Regions from separate parts of the Homo sapiens genome. Here all the other regions are linked to region 3. Evidence: promoter capture Hi-C in 16 types of primary human blood cells and fetal thymus (Javierre and others, 2016). All regions are on one chromosome and are shown on one strand. The core of a region is centred on a gene start or on the middle of the fragment in contact, and the rest is flanking DNA. Distances in the headings are between cores, read along the strand shown.

Evidence for each region. The method cuts DNA at HindIII sites, captures the fragments that hold promoters and counts their contacts. A CHiCAGO score of 5 or more calls a contact.
Region 1: a contact is called between a fragment that was not itself captured here and the fragment with the promoter of CD1C in region 3, in 1 of 17 cell types (erythroblasts). The highest score is 5.2, in erythroblasts.
Region 2: a contact is called between a fragment that was not itself captured here and the fragment with the promoter of CD1C in region 3, in 1 of 17 cell types (neutrophils). The highest score is 5.8, in neutrophils.

The regions. Positions count from the first base shown.
Region 1 is chr1:159,088,936-159,092,084 of GRCh38, reverse strand. It overlaps a transcript of AIM2 not described here. Among named protein-coding and RNA genes, the nearest start is that of AIM2, 14 kb to the right of the region's middle. The HindIII fragment of the contact is 1,495 bases long and covers 805-2,299 here.
Region 2 is chr1:158,960,660-158,963,953 of GRCh38, reverse strand. The region is part of intron 7 of PYHIN1 (pyrin and HIN domain family member 1); the gene reads right to left. Among named protein-coding and RNA genes, the nearest start is that of PYHIN1, 31 kb to the right of the region's middle. The HindIII fragment of the contact is 4,341 bases long and covers 1-3,294 here.
Region 3 is chr1:158,288,597-158,292,032 of GRCh38, reverse strand. It overlaps CD1C (CD1c molecule), which reads right to left and starts at 2,110. Exons shown (of 6, transcript NM_001765.3): 1 at 1,908-2,110; 2 at 633-899. The coding sequence starts at 1,968. It also overlaps a transcript of CD1B not described here. The HindIII fragment of the contact is 9,220 bases long and covers 1-3,436 here.

The sequences.
Region 1 (3,149 bases), core at 303-2,802, 800 kb before region 3:
CTTTTTTCAATAATTTTTAATTCATGATAAGATGACTCACCTAAGGATTTCACTTAATTGTTTTTTTCCTTAATTTGAACATTAGAAATAGGACTATGTTTAGGGTGTGTGTGCCCTTGGGCAATCACCCTCTGTTTCCTGTGGCCCTGCTACATTGCTAACTTCAGTGGATACCATTTACTTTCTGTTTTGTGTATCCTTGAGGCCCCTTTCATGCTAGAATATTTTTATAGGTGACAGCAGTTTAAGCATCCACATTCTAAGCAGGCCCTTTTCAATAGAGAGGGACGAAGCCACCATTTTTGCTTTGGCAATTGCTGGTGTGTCAGTGAACACACACACACTCATAACATTTGTTACCACATCCTTTATACATCACCCCCTAAGTTACTCTCCAAATACCTTCCCCCAAGGGCATCCAGAGGGCAGGACTTCAGCTGGCTGCCTTGATTCATCCCATCCTACAGATTGCTGTCAACACAAGAGATGATCAGGATAATGTAACGATTGCACTTTGTAAGTATATAATTTTGTTCATTGTCACCAGTTACATGCTGGCCATCCTCAAGCATATAAGATAGTCTTGTAACTTGTGAATCTTCAGAAATCAGAGGAGTTTCTCCTCCTCTTCACTGCTGACAGTAGTCAAAAGGGACCCAGCCTAGAATAAGTAAAGGGAAAGGCAGAACCTGCCAAAGCACGTCGTGACAAGCATGTCATTGTGGACTGACTCTACCCAGCATTTTTTCAGTGGTTGTAATGCCACACATGGCTTTAAGGTATTAATAGGATTGGACACAAGCTTTTCTGTCTTCTACACTTATAAGACCAAGAATGGCTAAATATAAAAAATGTAACCTTTATCCTATCATTCTCTTTTCTAGCTGTATTATTTGTTACTTTATTAAGTAATGTTTAAAGTTATTTGTATTAATTATTTTTACCATTCTCAGGACCATACAAGCCAATTTCTACAAGACTAGCATTAGGATTGAGGTTTCTCATTTAATGGTGATTCATCTTTCCCACATACAGCCTGCCCCTTCATTCTGATGTTTCCATTTCAGCAAGAGACTGAAAGGGAAAGGAGGTCAATAGGAAGTTACTCAGGAAGAAGAATACCAGGAGGGAGTGATGGTGCTGAACACAAGGGAGCCATTTGAGGTGGAATCTTTGAAACTCAGACACTTTATGCTAATGTGGTAGAGGTTGCTTAGGGAAAGTCTTTAGCATCAATGTAAAAGACAATTTTAACTCAAAGAACGATCAAAAATTATTTCCCTGATGGTTTGCTAGAGTCAAAACATGCCTTACACATGTTTGATGCTGACTCTGACAGAGGGATCTGTGTCTCCAGTTACCATGTCAGGAGACTAGACAAACAGCTCATGGTAAAAAATAAAAGACAAATGAATAACCTCCCAAACACAACCTTGTAGGAAAAATAGTAAGAGTTTTCACCTTAAGGTAAAGTTTTGGACTTGGTCTGAAGTGTCCATAGAAGGCATTTAAATAAACATTTTTATTTAGAGATAGAAACAAAAACAAAAATTGAAAGGCATGGAATTTTAGTGGCGTGATGACAATTACAATGACAAAATTATGAAATGTGAAGCAGTCACACGCTTTCTAGCAGTATGCGAGAGAGACTGATTCATGGACTTTAAATTCATGTATTATTTTTACATTCTGGTATATTTTTGCACTTTATAGTCACATCTTTTTCTGGTGTATGTATCTTTACACTGCATTCCTGCACTTTATTTAAAGTGACAGTATTTGTGAATATGACTGAAGTTAAGAGTTGAATGTTGTCTTATGTTGGGTCCCCAAGAAACAGACTGTTAGATTTGCCTGCAAGAAGTTTATTAGAGGGTGCTCTTGGGAACACCTATAAAGGAGAGAGGGAAACTGGGTTGGGCGGAGGGAGAAGTTAAATTGCAGTGAGGGCTGCAGCCAATCCCCCTGGGAACCCTAGAGCTGGGATGGCCTCTAGTTATGCCTAAGTGAGGCAAGAAGGCTGTGACCTTGAACCTCCTCATAGACCCTAAATCCTTGGCTTCAGGCTTTCTCCATGGAAGGATGCAACCTTGGGGAAGGCAGTTCCCTTCAGCATAGGGCAGTCCTGGAACACAGACTCAGGTGTCAGCTGTAACACTTCTAGCAGCTGGGAAAATAGGCACTTTGGTTGTCTGGTTGAAGGGTCTAGGGTCCAGTTACTGAAAACAAATAGTTACTGAACTAAAAACCGATAGAATAGGTAGGGCAGAGATGAAAGAGCAGTGATTTATGGAAAGCTTAGAAGAATAACTTCGTCGTAGGAAACCATGTGTATATTCTTATGATTGTGTGATTCTGGGACTCAGGGTACATGTTTTGAGTGGCCATTTTTGTTTTGACTGGTACATAATTTAAAGAACTAAGCAGAGTGATCCTGTGTTTGTTTGTTTGGTTTTGCATTCAGCTATCCTGAGAGTAAAGGAGTGAAACTAGGAAAGAAACTTCTTAAGGGAGAACCAGATAGTGAAACTAAGCAGGGGAGCCTGTAGGTAAGGGGGTTGAACAAACAATCCAACACAGGGGCTTCTTTAAGCAAGTGACATGCTTTATGTCTACCTTCTGTGCTTCTATCCTGATCTACCTTGGTTTTTATCCTTTTGGTTATGGAGTTGAACTTCTTCATCTTGCCACCAGGAGGCAGTGTTTTTTAGTGCTTAGGAGGATGTGCTTTGGCTACACCAGATGAAGTTCAAATCTTATTTCTACCATTCACTAATTGTATGACCTTAGTCCATTCACAAACACCGCTAAGCCTCTATTTTCTCATCTATAAAATAAGAATAATGACGGTACTCACTTTGCAGGATTGTTAGGAATATTAAATTGAAATAATGCTTATAAGCACCTAGGTCAGAAGCTCACAGCTCGTCTCACTTGCCAGAAATGGTCTCTTTTTCCATCTCATACAAATGACAGTCCTTAACCAAGTTTTCTTAAGAAATTCGTCAGTGTTTTCTTTGAATAAAGTATGAAGGAGGGAAGTAAGATGTAATGGGTTTGGTGATGAACTAAGTTAAAATGTGAAAATGGAGATACCTGTGAACACAGCTGCTCTTAGTCATTGTTTCAGTCCATTTTGTGTTGCTTAT
Region 2 (3,294 bases), core at 449-2,948, 670 kb before region 3:
CTCTTGAATGTCAATTATCTTAATTCCTACCCATATTCTGAATTCTATTTCTGTCATTTCAGCCATTTCAGCCTGGTTAAGAACCCTTGCTGGGGAACTAGTGCAATCTTTTGGAGGAAACAAGACACTCTGGCTTTCTGAATTGCCAGAGTTCTTGCACTGTTTCTTTTGAGTAGTTAGAAACCTTCTTTCCTGGATGTTGTTAGAGAGCTGAGGCTTTGTGCAGGGTTTTAATTTCTAGCTAAATTCTTGTCCATGGTTACACAGGGGTCTATATTAGCAAAATATTTTTGGTGTTGAAGTTTTGGGCTGTGATCCAGTAGGTGGTGCTTAAGTGTATTGGCCAGTAGGTAGGCTCTTGCTCTGCCATATGCAGGGCATGCTCCCTCTCAGTGCTCTGAAAGTGTGGGCTCCTTTCCCACTTGAGTACTGGCTCCAGATCTTGGCTTGGCACACTGCAGCTCTGGGATGAGCTCAGATTTTATGTTCCCTCGCCAGCTTGAAGGCTGCAGCAGAAGAAACCTTAGCAGTGGTTATGGCAGAGGGCCTTTCACTTGACTCTTGGTGGTCCACCCCAGAGAAACGAGGAGCTGCTATCAGCCAGTGCAATTGGCCAAAGATGGGGCAGCTGTGCTGTGGGCCCAAGCCAGAGGGTCCCGGTTTGGTGAAGAGCAGGGCTACGGGTGGGTCACAAGAGAGATAGACTGAGTTCTTCTCCTTAGGGCAACTGCAGTTCCTTCCCCAGTCTGAAGGCAGCAGGGCAGTACCACTGCAGCAGCAGTGGCAGAGGGGCTTTTGGTTGCCTCTGGGAGCTGCACCTCAGAGAGATGCAGAGCCGCTGCTACTGGGAATGTTCAGCTAGAGAATGGGAAGTTACATTGCTGGCCACAACTAGGGGCTCAGCTCGTTGAGGAGTGGGGCACTGAGGATTCATAGGGAGGAGGGACTGTGCTTTGCTGCCTGTATGGTGACTGTGGTGTGCTGGAAGCGCAGGTGAAACTCTCGGGGTCTTTGTTTCTTCCTTGAACTAAGGGGATCAGGGGCAGAACCACTGCTGTGGCCGTTGCAGTGGGGCTGTCAGTTGCCTCTGGGACCCCCTCCCCAGGGAAACACAGAGTTACTAGCAGACCGTATGCTTAGCCATGGGTGGGGCAGCTGTTTTGCAGTTCAAAGCCAGGAGCCCTGTCTGATGAAGAGTAGGGCTGGGAGCTCATAGGGAAGAGAGACTGGACTCCTCTCCAATGCTCGCTGCTGTGTGCTGGAGGTGCCAGTGTAGTGACCAGGCCCTTTGTTTCTTTCCCAGCTCGAGAGCAGTTAGGGCAGTGCCACTGCAGCTGCAATGGTGGAGGAGTTGTGGGTTGTCTCTGAGATTTTCTCCTGAGACAAATGCAAAGCTGCTTTCCACTGAAGTGTTCAGGAGGGGGCAGGGTAATTGTGTTCGAGTCCTAGGCCTGAAGGCCCCACCCAGTGAGGAGAAATGTGAACAGGGACCCACGGATACAACGGTCCGATCACTTCTCCGTGGGGTGGCTCCAGTGTGTTGGGGATCCGCCCATCACTAATCACTGCCCATCCTTCAGAACCTGAAGGCAACTGGTGCAAGGGCTGCAAGACAGAAAAAATGGCAGCCTACCTTTCCCTCTAGGAGCTCCATCCCAGGGAAGTATAGAGATGCTATAGTCACCAAAGCCCAGGTAGGGAGTAACTGGAGTCTGAAGTCAGGAGGTCCTGCCCAGTGAGGAGAACTGGCATCGGGAATCCACGTATAAAACAGTCTGGCCACTTTTTCATGAGGCATCTGTGCTGTGCTGGGGATCCAGCCAGTCCCTAATCACCACACACTCTCCAGGGCCTGAAGGCAGCCGTGACAATGGCTGTGAAACAGCAAAAATGGTGGGCTTCCTCTCCCTCTGGGGGCTCCAACCCAGGGAAGTGCAGAGCTGCTACCGGCCCATGAGCTCAGGCAGGGGGGTGGCTGGAGTACTAGGCTAGTGGACTTTATCCTGTGAGGTGCAGTGGAGGCGAGGCTTAGAGTCCAGTGCTGCTTAGTCCCCTGGATTCAGCTCCTTTTCTGAAGGCCTGTGAGGCAGCCTGACCTCCCCTATTGCCAGAGCTGCAGCCGCTAATTCCAGGATACTTGGATCCAAGGCTCCAAGGGTTCCTTGTATGCCTGAGTGGTGGCTCTGCCCAGGCTCCACTTAGCTTTCCCTCTCAATCTGAAGGCTCCAGTGGGGTGGTCTCATAGGGGTATCTCCTGAGCCCAGGGTGGCAAAGGTCCGTGGCAGAAGTATGGGTCCCCAGAGACTCTCACTCACTCACCATTTCCCTGCAGTGGAGAAGCCTCCTCTGGCTCCGTGCCATTCCCAGGTGAGCAATTGTCTTGTCTCACTCTTCTCTATTCTCCATGGGTAAAGTTGTTTTCTCGGTGGATCTCAATGGTCCACCTGGATGTTCCAGTTGAAGATCTAGCATTTACTTGCTACTCTCTTCTCTCTACAAGAGTGGTACACACTACCTGTTTCTAGCTAGTCATCTTGGCCCTCAAAAGCAGTATCTTAAATGAAGATTTAACCTCTCATTTCCTCAGTATTTAGAAATATGAAATGTGACTAATAATGACATCATCAAGTTAGTGTAAGGAAGAACAAATAAGAAAAGATACATAAAGTACATATAATTTACATTTAGCACACTCACTATCTTTGTGAACTTGGGGAATATTTTTAAATCCTATGTATTTCAGTTTTCTCTTATGTATAAGGCTGTGAGTAGCATTCTCATGACTGTGTTATGAAAAAGAGATGTGATAATATACATATACATATAGAATGCAGGTTTTAAAAACCAGTACCCTGTAAATACTCAGAAAGTAGAATATCATTTATGATTGGTATCATACTCATTCTGCAGGGATTTGGATGTCTACTCTGATCACTTATGTCTCATACTCCCTGTTTACCTTTCTCATGGAAACCCTAGATCAAATTGGTATAGAAAGTATTTTATTAAAGAAACTTCTTTATTCATATCTACCACTTATTGACAAAAACATCTTGAGTTACTATCTTCTCAAAAACAGCCAAATAAAACAGTCCATCACAATGGTGGAATTTAGATGAGAAAATATATACTCTGGTTGACTAGTATTTTAAATTATTAAAAAAATTTTCTCAGAGTAATTCTTTTCCTTACCATCCCTGGTCCTGATTCATGTCAATTTGAGTTTTTGGCTTTAGGTTAACATAACATAAGACATCAATGATAAGAATAGGCTGCTTCTTGTTTTAAGTCCCA
Region 3 (3,436 bases), core at 861-3,360:
ACAGTATAAAAACCTAGGGCTGTATCAGGAAGTGAAGCAAGAAAGTTTTACATGGATGTGAGAGTGAGCCAAAGACATATTTGATCAGAAACAAGAGAGAAAAATTGCTGGGGATAGGGAAGGGGACAATAAGAGATAAATGCCTTGAATTAACAAGAAAAAGTGGCCAAGGAAGATGTGGAAAAATGATAGGTGAGCCACATAATATAGGATAGAGGGTGAAGGGGGAGCCTTTGTGAGGGAGGTAGGAGGATAGCATTCCATGACGCATGAAATTGGTCATAATGGTCATTGAACTGTGGACATAGATCTTTGAAGAAATTGAATGGGGGAATAGATTTTATTTTAAGGGAGTCAAGCACAGAGTGGGACAGCTGTGTATCTCTGGATTGTAGGATACAGAGGGAGACCACAGGTGGAAGATAACAAAGCACAAGAAAAAAAATTCCAAAAATAGCAAGAGCCTAGGAAATTTGAGGGAGTCAACATCAGGAATATCCCTTAAAAGGTTCATCTATGCAGAATTTTATGGTGGGATGGGATAATGGGAAATGGCCCAAAAATTAGTAGAGAATATTTCCCTGAAATAGAACATTCTAAAGAACTCCCATAATTTAGATGATTGAACTTACATTTCGAGTAATCTTGACTTGCATGGTCTTGAATCTCCCGAGTTAATCCAAAGAGGTAGAAACGAAATAACAACTCTAGGTCTGACAACTCTTCATTGCTGAAGTTGCCCTTGGACCAGTTATGCAGGAAAATTATTGTGCCTGATTCACTGTCCCAGCCATGAGTCTGCAACTCGTCCAGCCATCCTGAGCCCTGACCTCGTGCCCAGGATTGGTTGACAAATGAGAAGATCTGGATGACATGGAAGGAGACGTGTTCCTGGGATGCTTTTGGTGGAAGAAGGGCAAGTAGTGTAAGGAAAAAAAAAAAAAGAGAGGCAAGGAAAATGGAGAGAAAATGGAAGGTGAACCAGTTACCACAGAGAAACATTAATGACTACTTTAGCTATACCATTTTCCTTACACAGAGCCCCATGCTCTGCCACCATCCTCTAAAAGAGTAAACTGGACCTGGAGAGAGGTATGCTCAAATGGCAACCATTCTGGCTTCTTCATTGATCCATCTTGGGAAAGCCCATCATGCTCAACCCAGATACATGTAACCTTGCAGCTGACAGAGATGTTCATACTATCTGCATTGTCACCACCGGGGAGGAGAAGAACTAGCAGCGGAAACTACAGAAACAGCATGTCATTTGCAGTTGTTTCCTTCTCTCAGAAAAGCCATTTGCTGATCTCTGTTCTTAGCAAACTTATCCCTCTACATCTATATTCTGACTTCCTTCTACCAACAGACAATCTTCCCCATCAGCCACTGACAGCAACTAAGACAATCTGCTTCCCTTAACCTTAGGCCTCCTACTCAATCTCTCATTTCCCCATCTGCTCTGAACTAAAGTTACTCTCTTCCCTTAGGATTTTAGCTGCTCTCCCACTAAGCTCCATCTTATCTACTTCCCTTCCTCAACTGCCTTAGACAAAGTGGTGCGTGGCATTGAAAGGTTGCTTCATCCCTCTGGACCTTGCGTGTCATTTGTAACATAAAAAGGAGAAACCACATCATTTTCCTGGGCCCTGATTGTTTTAACGGAAAATGGAGAGGAAATGGAAATTGAACCAGTTACCACAGAGAAACATTAATGACTACTTTAGCTATAACATTTTCCTTACACAGAGCCCATGCTCTGCCACCATCCTCCAAAAGAGTAAACTGGACCTGGAGACAGGTATGCTCAGATGGCAAGCATTCTGGCATCTCTATTGATCCATCTCGGGAAAGCCCAGCACACTCTACCCAGATACATGTAACCTTGCAGCTGACAGCGATGTTCTTACCGTCTGCATTGTCACCACCTGGGAGAAGAAGAGCTAGCAGCAGAAACTGCAGAAACAGCATGTCATTTGCAGATGTTTCTTTCTCTCAGAAAAGCTGTTTGCTGATCTCTGTTCTTAGCAAACTTATCCCTCTGTACCTATATTCTGACTTCCTTCTACCAACAATCTTCCCCATCAGCCGCTGACAGCAACTAAGAAGATCTGCTTCCCTCAACCTTGGTCCTCCTACTCAATCTCTCATTTCCCCACCTGCTCTGAACTAAAGTTATTCTCTTCTCTCAGGATTCCAGCTGCTCTGCCACTAAGCTCCATTATATCTACTTCCCTTCCTCAACTGCCTTAGACAAAGTGGTGTATGGCATTGAAAGAAAGGTCATTTTGTCCCTCTGGATTTTGCATGTCATTTGTAAGATAAAAAGGAGAAACCATGTCATTTTTTCAGTTCCTGCTTGTTTTAATAGATCACAGTTCTTCCAGTTTCTCCACTTAACTTTGCCTCCACTCTCCATAGTGTCCCCTCTTCTCATCACTCCATTCTTTCTTTCCCCCTTTTGAATGTCCTCAAAGTTTTCTCTTTCCAATTTCACCTCTTTTCACCCATCTTTCTTATTTCCTCATTCTCACTGATTCTTTTATAAATTGGAGACGTTGCTTTTTACATCTTCCAAGATTTCCCTGCACAATTATATAAACTACAGTCCACTCTACATTATCCTTAGAGATTAAATTGCAGCCATTCAGAATGCATAGGACCATAACAAATATAAAGAAGCCCTTCTACTGCATTTAATCTGTATAGTCATTCACTAAAAAATTACATAGTACATGGTTGATACCAGTGTCTTACTAGGCATATAAACACACAGAGGTTAACAATGTAATCTCTTCTATCAAAGAGTTTTAAACTGCAGATGTTTAAACAAAAAATTAAAATGCATTGTGATTTTAATTTCAATGTATAGAATCCCAGATACAAATCTACTTAGAACTATATTCTCTAGAGCAGCATTTTGACTGACTAACCCCCTGGGAAGTTCATAATTTGAAGTCCTGGAAGAACAGCATGCATCTCAACTAAATACTGAAAATTCTGTACAGTGTGGAATGGTATACGATTGTGATAGTCAGAACATGCAGCTTTTCAAGAGGACTCATACATGGGGAGACCACAAAAATCCAAATTTAAGTTGTTTTGTGATCTGACCAAAACACATTGTATAAAAAGGGCAGCATTTGTCAATGTTTGATTTAAGTAGTTTATATGAAGTATTCAGTGACTTATCAGTGACCCTGGCTGGTTAATATGTGTAAATACATGAACACAGTTTTTTTGAGATCCAGGAAATACATTTATTATTATAGTGTTTCTTAAATCATATTAATTATTCACTGAATGCATTGGAGCAGTCACTTAAAATCTGGGCATGAATTTGTGCTAGGCACAATGACTCATGCCTGTAATCCCAGCACTTTGGGAGACCAAGGTGGGAAGATCACTTGAGCCCAGGAGTTTGAGACCAGCCTGGGCA